Linked DNA regions of Homo sapiens: all the other regions are linked to region 3. The links are contacts of gene promoters, found by promoter capture Hi-C in human tissues and cell types (Jung and others, 2019). All regions are on one chromosome and are shown on one strand. The core of a region is centred on a gene start or on the middle of the fragment in contact, and the rest is flanking DNA. Distances in the headings are between cores, read along the strand shown.

Region 1 (3,899 bases), core at 386-2,885, 510 kb before region 3:
GGGCTGTCTGCCTGTGGGCACCTGCTTCCTCACCCTGTCCAGAGATCTGACCATGGTGATAGTAACCATGATTCTTTAATTCAAGGCACTGTAAAGTTAGCAAAAAGATTGAGGATAAACAAATCCACTCCTAGATTCATACTGTTTATCATAGAGTTTGCATCAGCCTAATTATATGATGAGCTGTCATACACCATTAAGAGCAAGGACTGGGTTTGCATTTCAATCCTGTCACCTATGGAGCAAGTTATTGAATATGTAAGAAGGTCCATCTTTTCATGTTAAAATAGGGATAATATTTATCTTATCAGAATGTTGCCAAGATTAGAAATGAGGTATGTAAAGTTCTTTGTGCATAGTAGGTGCCTAGTAAATGTTGTAACTTATTAAAGTTTCTTCATTAAATTTGGTGAAGCCAAGTCTGACTATAAGAATTGTATCTCTCTGGCTCTATTCAAATTTCTCTTCTAAATTATCTAGATTCTCTCTGCAGATAGCAGCTACCGTGGCAATAGGAAGGAGATTCTAGTCTCCTAGAAATGGAGATTAGGGAAAATGAAATGAATTTTAATTTGGCTCAGAGATTTTTGAAAAGATTTCTTATTCCCTAGAAATATGGAAACTTTCCTTGGTACTTTTTACTCAATATGATTAAATAATCTCCCTTATTGCAGCAAATTAGGGACTTATTTGAATAAGTTAAATCCTTTCACATCCAGCACCTATTAGAATGCCTGGCACATAATAGTTGCCAAATAGAAGTCTGTTGAATGAAGGGACCATCACTCACATTCAGCAGGGAGAAGAGGCTGCAGATTTTAGAGGGAAGGGAAACTGTATGTGTGTTTCTGCATAATGTTTTAAGACAAGGAGTATTATCTACTATATGTAATCTGTTTTAAATGTTTTTGATGATTTTGCTGAGGGTGAAAACCCTTGTCCTTTCCTGTCACCTATAATCAGTATAAAAATATTGATGTTTTGCATCTGCATCAGCCAACAATCTTTTTGTGGCAATAGTACACTACCTTGAGAAATACAGGGACATAATAAGATACTTTTCTGGCCTCAAAGATCCTCCACCCTGGATGAGGAGTCAAAGTTGAAGACAGTTGAAAAAAATAGAACAGTGATTCTTAACACTGGGGAACATTCAGGAAATTTCAGGGGACAGTGACTGGGGAGTACTCCTGGTGCTTGGTGGGCAGAGGCCAGGGAGGCTAGATGTCCTGGGATACATGGGACAGCCTTTCACCAGGGAGGTTTGCTGTGTGTCCCACACAACTTCCAAAAAGTCCCAGCAGCTATTCACATAGGTGAAAAAACAAAATGCATTTATAATTCTCTGAGCCTAGAACCCAACTACTTTTTACGTATAAGTATTAAATATTTTTACATGGTTTTAATCCACACCAAATTTTCTAGTAATGCAGCAATAGTGTATATTGTGAAGATGGCACTTTGTTACATTTGAAACCTTTCAAAGAATCATTCATCATATCAGGAAAAAGGAAAATTTTTCTAACATAACACCCCTGTATTCATTTTCATGCTACTGTTACTTTTGTGGTAATTCTCCCCATAAGAGAAATCATAGCAAACCCTTAGATAGCACTTACTGTTCTAAGAGCCTTATGTATATGCACTAATTTAATCCTCACAACAACCCTGTAAGGTAGAAACTATTATTCTCATTTTCCATGTGAGTAAACTGAAGTATGGGAAATTTAAATAGCTTCCCCAAGGTCACACAGCTAATCAGTTATAGTAGTTTTTGACTACTTTTTAAAATGTAGTTGTGTACAAGTATTTATATTTTGTAGTATTTGATAGAAATTACTCATTTCTCCTTTATTTCACTGATAAGCCATTATACTGATTTTTTTTTTAAATCTATGTAGGGAGTATTTAGCCTATATGTATTCAGTACAGTATTATGAAGGAAGTGTATTTAGGAATTTCATTTCAGGATGAATACTTGTTATAAAAAGTAAAAAGTAACTGAGTCTTAAGTTTGTCAAAGAATAAAATTGATGGATGGATGGATTTTTTTTTTTTTAAAGGAGGGGGAAGGCAGTGAGCCTGACTGCAGAGTGTAATTTGCATTTAAATGACAAGTGGTATGACACTTCCACCTGTTCTTCAGGGAGCCTCACCAAGTATGTTTTGCCTCGAGGCCTTTGCTTTTGCCATTCCTCACTTGGTTTTCCCTTCTCTACCCTACCTCTCACCCCGCAATCCACATGGCTTGTTTCCTTTCTTCAGATCTCCTGGTATACGTCATCTCATCAGAGGGGCTTTCCATGATCACCTTATAGCAACCTCTATCCGTAATCCTTATCCCTTCTTTCTCTCCATTGTGCTTATCACCCCATGACGTATTATGTATTTATTAACTTAGTTTTGGAATATAAGCTGCAGGTGAGAAAGCTTTGTTTCTCTTTCTCAGGCAGTGCCTGACATAGAGTAGGAGCTTAATAAATATTGAATGAAGGGGCAGATGTAGAATCGTTAGAATTTGGAAAAAGGCTGGAATATTTGGTCCTAAGATGTACTTTGAATGATTTAAATCTGACTGAGAAAACCAGTTTGAGGTTGGCAGAGTAGAAGAAGGAGGGTATTTTAGGCCGAGAATTTGGTAAGACAGAGATGGGATTGTCAGCTGTATGGTGAAGGTGGAGGAGTACTAGTCTTTCAGGAACAGAGCAAATGTAATAGAGCAGCTGAAAATAGGCTTGGCGTTGGGGATTAAGGTCAGATATGGCAGTCTGGAATTTACAGAGGGATGTGATGAAGCAGGCATTACTAGCTTTGAAGTAACAGGCTGCGGCTGGATTTGAGGAAAATTGATCTGGCAGTAGAGGTCAATATGAGACTAGAAGGGGAAAAGCCAGGGGCAAGAAGATGAGCTAAGAAGCAATTACAGCATTTTGGCCCTGAGACATGGAGTGCTGTGATGCAATTGAAAGGAAATATAACATATATATTTTAAAAACAAATGACAAACCAGAGAATTTTTTTAAATATTAGTATAATAGAATGATTATCATAATGATCATTGTCACTGTCATCTTTACTGTCTGATACCTACTTATCTTCAACTTTGTACCATTTGTTGTTTTAAGTGCTTTGCATATATGGTCTCATTTAATCCTCATATGTATCTGTTCTGGTTATTTATTGCTATGTAAGAAATCACTTCAAACCTAATACTTTGAAATATGAATGTATTTTTATTAGTTTTCATGGCTTTGTGGGTTAACTGGTCTTGGCTAGACATTCTTGCTTGGCATTCCTCATATGGTTGCAGCCCAGTGGGTAGCTATCTGAAAGCTGAACTGGCTGGATGGCTAGGATGGCTTCTTGCCCCTCAGGTCTGGCTCTGGGCTGGGGTGGCTGGCATTGCTGAAGACTGGCCAGGCATGTGTGCTCTTTCTTGTGCAAGTGCTCTCTTGCGCTTTCTCTCTTCACTGTCTGTGAAGTTAACATGGACTTCTTGTAGCATAGCCTCTCAGAGTAGTCAGACCTTTTTTTTTTTCAACCTAATGGCTTAGGGGTCCCAATAGCACATTCAAAGAAAGCAGGATGAGAGCTGCAAGATTTCTTATGACTTAGCCTCAGCAGTCATGCACCATCACTTGTTGGTTACACAAGCCAACTCAGATTCAGTGTAGGACAGTGTGGCTCATTAAGAGTATCTTTGGAGACTAGCTGCCACAGTAATCCACTTTACAGATGAGGAAGCTGACACACTAAAAAGATTATTTGTCAGTGATTGTGCACAAAAGATTTAAACTTGCAATTCTTGTTCTCAGTACCAGAGTGAACCTGGGAAAATCATTTTTTCTCTCTAGGTCTCAACTTTATGTGGAAATGAGGGAGTTAGAGGGGGTGATATT
Region 2 (3,846 bases), core at 1,085-3,584, 990 kb after region 3:
AAATGTACAATTTCTACTGCAAGGCAACGCACACTAAGTGAGGCACATAAGCTTTGACTCATCCAAACAACATACTCGTCACTTCTCCAGGTAGATAACTTTCACTGGCCTCACATCCACACTCTCCGCAGTCACGTGACCCATGGGTGTGGCAATGATGCTACTCTTCAGCTCATGCCTGCAGTCTGCCCTGCTTCTGACAGCACCCCAACCGCTGCTGTCCCCTACCCCAGGAGGAAAGGGCAGGGCAGGATTTTCCACACAGTACCTGAAAGGTTTCTGTAGAAACATCTGCTTATCTGGAGGCTGCCAACATAAGAACCTCATCTCCCTCCTGCTCACCTAGACACCTCTGCCCCAACCCATTCACCAGCAGAATCAATAGAAATCCACAACTGCTAAAGCCCTCCTCATTTGTATGTCTGCTCCCTCAGAAGGCCTGTGCTGTCTTTGCTTACATTTTACCTGGCTAGAAGGAGAGAGACTGAAGGGGGTGCAAGGACTTTTTAAAAATGAGGTAGTCCTTTAGGGTCCTCTTAGAATCTTGATAAGCATGAACTGTTCTGAAACACTCTAATCTAGCACTTAAAATGTTTTCCCCCTCCCTAAACCAAAACATATTATTGGTTGAGCCTACAGAAAATTGCCAATATTCAACCATTTTTGACATACAAAAATCTCAATTTCATGTGGTTCAGCCTAATCACAGACTTGAGCCTTTGGCTCTATTCGTTCTAAAGTTCGGCTTTTCAAAGACTCAGTAGACTATTGCGACCTGAAACTTTCCTTTGTAACTTTGTTATTCTGGGAATGGAGTTCTACGTCCCTAACAACTGACCACAAACAAATTTTGGAACATAATCTATTCATAAGTTGAGGTCTGCCTACAAAGAATGTTCTTTCCTGTGCAAGACAGGTTGATGAATTGCATTTATTAGAATTACAGGATAAAGAAACCACAAAAGGCTAACTTTGGGTCTCCAGATAGCCCTCTCAGCCTTCTGGCTCCAAAACATAATCATAATTTAAGCTTGTCTGGTGGTGAGCCAGGCTGGCCCGGGAAAAATTAGTGCAATCAGACTCATGAGTCTAGGTGAAGGCCACAGTTCTCAACATAGAAACACACATAAAAAAAGCTGACTAATCAAAGAGCGAACTTCAGAAATGAAGAAGAGATAAAGAAAACAAACAAACAACAAAAAAAGAGTAGACAAACGTGGGGATGTGATTCTAAACAGTGTTCTCAACCATGCCTGCCTGCCTGTAGAAATAACTTATGGAGGCTTAAAGATACAGGTGCCTGTGCCTCCCCAGACATTCTAATTTCAGTGGGCAGAAGTGTATCTGGGCACCCAAGTTTTACAAAGCACCCTAGGCAGTTCTAATAAGCATTCTTTTTTGAGAACTATGGTTCTAAAGATTAGTCCAAAACCAGGAAATAGATCCATGGAGTAAAAGATAGGAAACACGAATAGGATTTATAGGTCTAAAATGAGCCCTTGATCCAGGCAGTCACCCTAACAGGTGAGGCCATTGTCAGAATTCCTTGTGGTAGTTTCCTGGAAGCATAAAGGCTTCCAGGGAGTCAGAAAGGTGTGTGGCATTAGGAGAACACAGCAAATGGTCATAGGGCACCAGTCAAGGGTTCAGGTAGGACCCTAAGGAGAGGGGAAAATGACGGGTAAAAAACAGGCACAAATTCCACCACTAAGAGAATTCTGAAGATAGGGCAGGAACCAAAAAACCATGGATCTGTACCTAGATGGACATGAGATATCACCGTGAAGCTGAAAGATGAGATTCATTCAATACTGAGTCCTCAGGTCCTTCTTATCCTTCTCCTTACATCCAGGATTGTTCCTACAGCCCAGAGGAGGCTGTATTATCCCAGCAGTAGGGGTAAAGAATTTAGGGGCAAAACCCCAGCAAGCCTTTGTAGTTTTTCCCTTAGAATAAGCAACTTACTTCCTTCTGTTTGCCATGCCCCAAAAAGGGGGACTTTTTCTTGAAATTCTGCTCAAGACCTAATTTTGTACTCTAATGGCATAATATATGGCCCACTCTCTCTCTCAATGTATAGTCATGTACAGTTGCACAGTTTGTACACTGCACAAAGGCACATGACTGAGAGCTAGGGACTCTTGAAGTCATGTGGCCTGGTGCAGAGTTGTTTCTGCCCAGAGGACCCCCTTTTTCAATTTTGCACAAAGACTCAGTGGGGGCTAGGAGTAGCTCTGACAGCAATGAATGATTTGCATCTATTCAAGTATTTGTTGACTGAATGATTAATCTATTGACTCTAACCCTGCCAAAATCGATGGACAAATGCTATGTTTTAAATATTTAACAGGGCATTCTGCATTTACCCTGCACACTGACATTTTCTCCCTAAAAATGTTCATTTAAAAAAGGAAACTCCATCAAGTGTAGCAAGAAAAAGCTTGTACTCTTGCCCAGCCAACTTCATCCACTGACGACAGCACAGAAAAACATAAAAGCCCCTTGTTTCGCTGTCTTTGTTTCCCATGTTCTGAGGAAAATTGCACTGGAATTATGAACAGTTAGCAAATGGTATATAAACGACCAAAAGCCAAATGACAGCTCTATGAACAGACCCAGGCTGGCCCTGGCAAAGCCAGGCTGCTTGGGTTCTGGAACAAGAATTAAGGAATCAAGTTCCATTCCTGGCACTGTCCCCAGTTTGCTGTTAACCTTTTTTGCTGTCACCTCCTTTGCATCCACAGGGCTTTGTGACATGCACTGCAGTGCAAATGAGACACTATTTGATAAGATCTGAAAACCTCGGACAGAGGCCACAAAGCCAAGTCAATGCAGGGAGAGTTCCTCAGATGTGTCTCTCCCTGGGGCCCAGCTCTCTAAGGGATCTCTCGCTCTCTCTCTCTGGGGCTGTTGAGCTGCTTGATGAGATGTCAGCCTTTAACTCGACGGGAATCATGAGAGAAAAAAACAGATTGTAGAAAATATCTCATTTCCCAATGAGACAGAGATTCTTGACATAGCTTGACCCAGCAGTGTAGAAAAATTCAAGAGAAATGCATCAGTATCTTTAAAGAACAGACACATCCTGTACATCTGAGCTGGGCTTTCAATACTGTCCCTCCTCCAGGCTCACTCAATATTAAACCCTTTCATACCATGTGGCTCCTCCTGAGATTCCATCATAACTGTTTAGGCTCAGATGAGGACAACTCAAACCACTCTATTTGGACCTCATTTTCTGCCCTCTGTCCTTCCTCGCCAGAAAAAGCATTTGCTCTATTTTGTAGATCATATCTGTTCTAAAGGTGGGAACATGGTCCCTTCATAGCTGATGGAGTTCTCTGGATATATCTCCAAGACTGACTTGGTTGGTTTCCAGAAATTCCCTCCTTTCTCTAACACTTCCCAAAGAAGGAAGGATCCGTGAACTCACCTAACAAATTTGTTCAGATCTGCATCTGGTCTCACATCTGTTTCCTTCTCCACCCACTTCACTGGAATGCTCTCCGAGTGTGGGGAGTGTTTGGAACAAATCAGAAGAAAGTTCCTATTTAATAGAAGGTGGAGTGTTGGTTATTACACCTGGGTCCCATCGCCATCTCGGGTGCATCTAATTCCTCAGGAGTCCTGTTCTGACAGCATCCTCCAGGCCTGGTGCTCCCTTCTCAGAATTTACAATGGAAGATTGGGTGGAGGAGGGACTGGCTTTGGTTTTGTTTGTTTTTTGCAGAGAACCGAATCTCTCTCTTTGCTTTCAAATTGGCTTCACCTTCCTCACCAAGGAGAGGCCATTGGGCTGAGCACCTGTGATGATACTGCCCTGGCTCCTCCTCAGCTTACACCATA
Region 3 (4,000 bases), core at 683-3,182:
TTTAAAATGGCAAGGAGACAAGAAGGGGAAGTGTTCAACTGGGCTGCATGTTCCATTGTGATTTTATCAACAAAACATTATTACTGTATATTTTCAGTCTAGACATAGACATAGATCCAACAGTGCCTGTGAAATGATTATTATCATCTATGGAATGTTATTATCATCAATAATGTTTAGTTAAGAGTTTCAGCTTTTAAAAACTGTTACAGGGATTATCTCATTTAATCCTATAGCTGCTATATGTAGTGGGTACTATTCATATCACCATTTTATAGATAAGAAGAGAGGCTTAAAGAAGTTAAGTAACTTCCTTACAACCAAAATGTGACTGAATGAGAATTCAGGTAAAAATTTCCCCAAAATATTATTTATCCAAATATCTGTAACATGCTACTAAGTGCATCAGTCAGAAAATTTGTATAGCTTGATTAGCTCTGAGGTTCTCGAAGGTTGGAAATCATATATTATTTACCTTTGTATTACCAACACCAGCATTAGACACAGAATGACTAATCTATTAGACATTTGTTAATGAATGAAGTAATCTCCTTATGGGATAATAATAGTAACAATGAGAAGAAAAATAGAAATTCACAAAGTGGTGCTCTGCTTTCAGTGAGTTTTCATGAAAAGTTTAATGGTAATGAACGTTCATAAATTTGTCCAAGGTTAGAATATATTAATATGCAAATATTTAATTTGACATTTCATAAAAGAAAATTAAATAAGATGTGCAGCTAATTTATACAATTTTTTGATAAAAATACAGGGACAAGCACCCCAGATGCAGAAACATTTTAATCTCCTTGGAATTTTTGGGAGTAATATTGAGGTTGAGAACTGTATGGTCCGCCACATAAGATTTACAATCTGCAGGGTCCCTCCTTTATAAGGCCAGCCGTGCTTGTGTTCAAGGACAAAAGTTTAGCCAAATGACTTTAATCATTAGGACCTCATTTCCTGTCTGAAACAGATGAGCACCAATTATCTGCAAGATATTTTATGGTATACATGGTTAATGATTTAAGAAGTTATTTGCCAGAATATTTGAAATAAATTTACAAAATACACTTTAAGTATTGATTGAAATTAATCAACTTTTTGAAAGATACTAGGCCTGCAACAGAAGTCACGGTGAGGGTTGAGGAAGGCTAACTATTGTCACTTCTGTAGCTGAGGATAAGGCAATAAATTACTCTCTTAATTTTTAAGAAGAAAAGGCATTTTTACCATCTATGTTATTCTATGTAGAGTAGAAATTCTGGTACATCCAAAATATTAAAATTGTTTGTCTAAGAGATATTTACCAAGATAAAGACAAGAAGACTTTTTACAGAAAAAGAAATGCATCATTTTCTTCGAAATAACATTAGAGGAAAAAACCTGTGAGACATGAACAAAGACCTACTATAATGAAAAACATATTTTAAACAATAACCATTCAAATATAGTTTAACACTTAAATAATGTTCACTTTGACCAGTTTGAAAGAAGACTCTGTTTTCATTTTGGAAAGCAGTTCCAACAGGTTACCTAACAATTTGACATTTTTCTTAAAATCGCAAATTGTTGAGAAACTTCAGGAATTTTCAAGTAAGAGAATGCCCTGCTGTTTGGAAACAAGGTAACAGCAAAGCATAATCATATTGTAAAGAAACATTAACATCACTCTCAGTTTGTAAATTGGGTTTCCCCCTTACAGCTACGTAAGGCATTTTTTTCTAAAAACTGTAGTAAGATAAAAATCATTGATTAATTAAAGACAAACTTGTTTCTTATAGTGTTTAATCATCCAAATACCTTAAATCAGGTTCTTACTTACCTCAAGATTGGTGTGTCAAGCTCTCTCTTTTGTTCTTTTGGTTATGTTTTAAACCTGCATTGGGTTAGAACTTGTTCCTCTTTTTCACTTTGGTGGGTTACTTCCTTCTTTCCCTCCTTCGTTCACGCTATTTAATACTTGCAAAGTTTCCTGGCTCTAGAGGAAGTCAGTATCAGATGCAGCAGAATTAAGATAAATGGCGTGAGGTTTTGAATAAGGAAGTCTGGCCCTTCATCTTTGTCAAGTAATAGTTTTTTAACTGTGTCAGAAAATAATACGTAAAGCCTACATGGTTTTTTATTTGGGCCATATTTGCAGTTCCCACTTTAATATCAATAAAAGTCACTTCACTTGTACTTTGATTTTTTAAAAAAAGAAATATTTTAATTGTAGTAACACATAGGTCTTGGGCTTTTATTATTATTATTATTATTTACTTGTGTTGCTAGACCAGTCCTCTCTTCAAATATTAATATTATGTACCAATGCTCCCAAGTTATAGCCATACAGGTCAAATCAGTGTCCCAATTTGGGTTTGGAAAATGTTAACGTTCTTTTAAATTTATAAATAGGAATTTCCTAAGGTATGTTTTGAGGCCCATTACCCCTGAGATATGCTAGCAGCTCTTCCATCAAGTAAATGTGGGGAATACTGCTTCCCTGGAGATTCATGGGTACATCAGCATGCTAAAGGCTCTCAGCAGTCTTACAGCCAGCAAACAAAATAAAACCAAATAAGAAAAAGAAATTGTTTAACTTTGCTTAATAATAGTAGTCAGTATGTTCCTAGCACTAAGTACTCCAAACCTTTTGTGTAATACTCAGCAAATCTTGGCAACAACCCTGTGAGGGAGAAAAACTGTTATTAGTCCTATTTTACAGAAGAGGAAACAGAAGCACACAGAATGATCACTTGCCCGACAGAGCCTGCAGTTTGCCCCCAGCACCTGTGTGCTAAACCACTGCACTGGCTGCCTTGCTAGATTGAGTAACATGTTTCCCACATAGATACGCTTACCAAGAGCATCTCTTGGAGTCCAACTCATGGGAACACACACAGTGGGAGATGCTGAATTAGACAAATTACAGATGAATTCGACAGATGAGATGACAAAGTAATGGAAAATTTGTCTTTTAAGTTGTCTTGGAACTTTTTGAACCACAGAGGATTAACTTTGCATAAGGTGGTTTTAAAAAAGAGGATTTAGTTACTGAAATAACTACTGGACATTGGAAGGACAGGACGTATTATTAACACTTGCTGAGCACTGACATTATGCCAGGCATTGTGCTAAGAGATGAGGATGCAAGAGTGAATAAGCTCCCTGCAGCACTTAAAGCCAAGTAGAGAGGCTGCTGCGCCCACAGAACATTTCAGATCAAAGTGATAATGCCTAAGAAAGACAGGATTATGGACAGGGACAGTGGAGGTAAAGGAAAGAGGCATCCAGCTCAGAGGGTGGTCAGGGAAGGCAAGACCTGAGCTAAGCCTCATAGAATAAGGTGTTAAGGCAGAATAGGGGTGTCCTGGACAAAAATCTTACAGTGAAGGAGGTTATGAAGTTGTGAAGCTATGAACTTGATGTGCTCCACATTCTCACCACTATATTTAACTTCAGTATTAGCCACCCCTCCAAATAATATACACACTCACCTGCCTAGGCATACATCTGTAAGAAAGGCAATTTATACAATGTTTGTATAAAATTATGATTTTCTCTAGAAGGCAGGACAACTGGTGCTCATTCAGCTTTTGCCCTTTGAAGTTAAAAAAGTTGCTTAACCCCTTATTACTTTAGTTTTTCTAACGGAAAATAAAATGGAGGGAAAATGACTGGCACTTTCCTCAAATAGAATTTTTTTGATGTAATGGATATAATTATTCTTCAAGTTTATAAAAGAAATGCTGTATATATTCAAAATAGAATTATTGGATCATTGTCATTTGTAGGGATTATGTTTTATGTCTTGAATTCTATATTTTCCTACTTCCCAATCTTTGGCCTCGCAAAATACATATTTATTGTCTCCTTTCAGTTCCTTTTTAATCACAGCAATTATGTCTAGGTTTTCTTTTCCTGCTTTTTCTTCTACAGTTATACGGTTTGGGTAGTAAAGGGCTTAGGAAGTAGTTTATTGTTCTGTAGTGTAATATGGACTGGATCTTTCATCTAA

Evidence for each region. Contacts are between HindIII fragments. The study calls those that stand out against the background at their distance.
Region 1: a contact is called between a fragment that was not itself captured here and the fragment with the promoter of GAPT in region 3, in 1 of the 25 tissues and cell types used here (mesendoderm cells).
Region 2: a contact is called between a fragment that was not itself captured here and the fragment with the promoter of GAPT in region 3, in 2 of the 25 tissues and cell types used here (adrenal gland and dorsolateral prefrontal cortex).

The regions. Positions count from the first base shown.
Region 1 is chr5:59,002,127-59,006,025 of GRCh38, reverse strand. The region is part of intron 6 of PDE4D (phosphodiesterase 4D); the gene reads left to right. Among named protein-coding and RNA genes, the nearest start is that of PDE4D-AS1, 36 kb to the left of the region's middle. RefSeq lists an enhancer at 2,219-3,114. The HindIII fragment of the contact is 5,756 bases long and covers 1-3,899 here.
Region 2 is chr5:57,500,802-57,504,647 of GRCh38, reverse strand. All of the region lies in intron 3 of RMEL3 (enriched in melanoma 3), which reads right to left. Among named protein-coding and RNA genes, the nearest start is that of ACTBL2, 20 kb to the right of the region's middle. The HindIII fragment of the contact is 3,585 bases long and covers 542-3,846 here.
Region 3 is chr5:58,489,367-58,493,366 of GRCh38, reverse strand. GAPT (GRB2 binding adaptor protein, transmembrane) reads right to left here and starts at 1,932. Exons shown (of 3, transcript NM_001304431.2): 1 at 1,826-1,932. The HindIII fragment of the contact is 14,545 bases long and covers 1-4,000 here.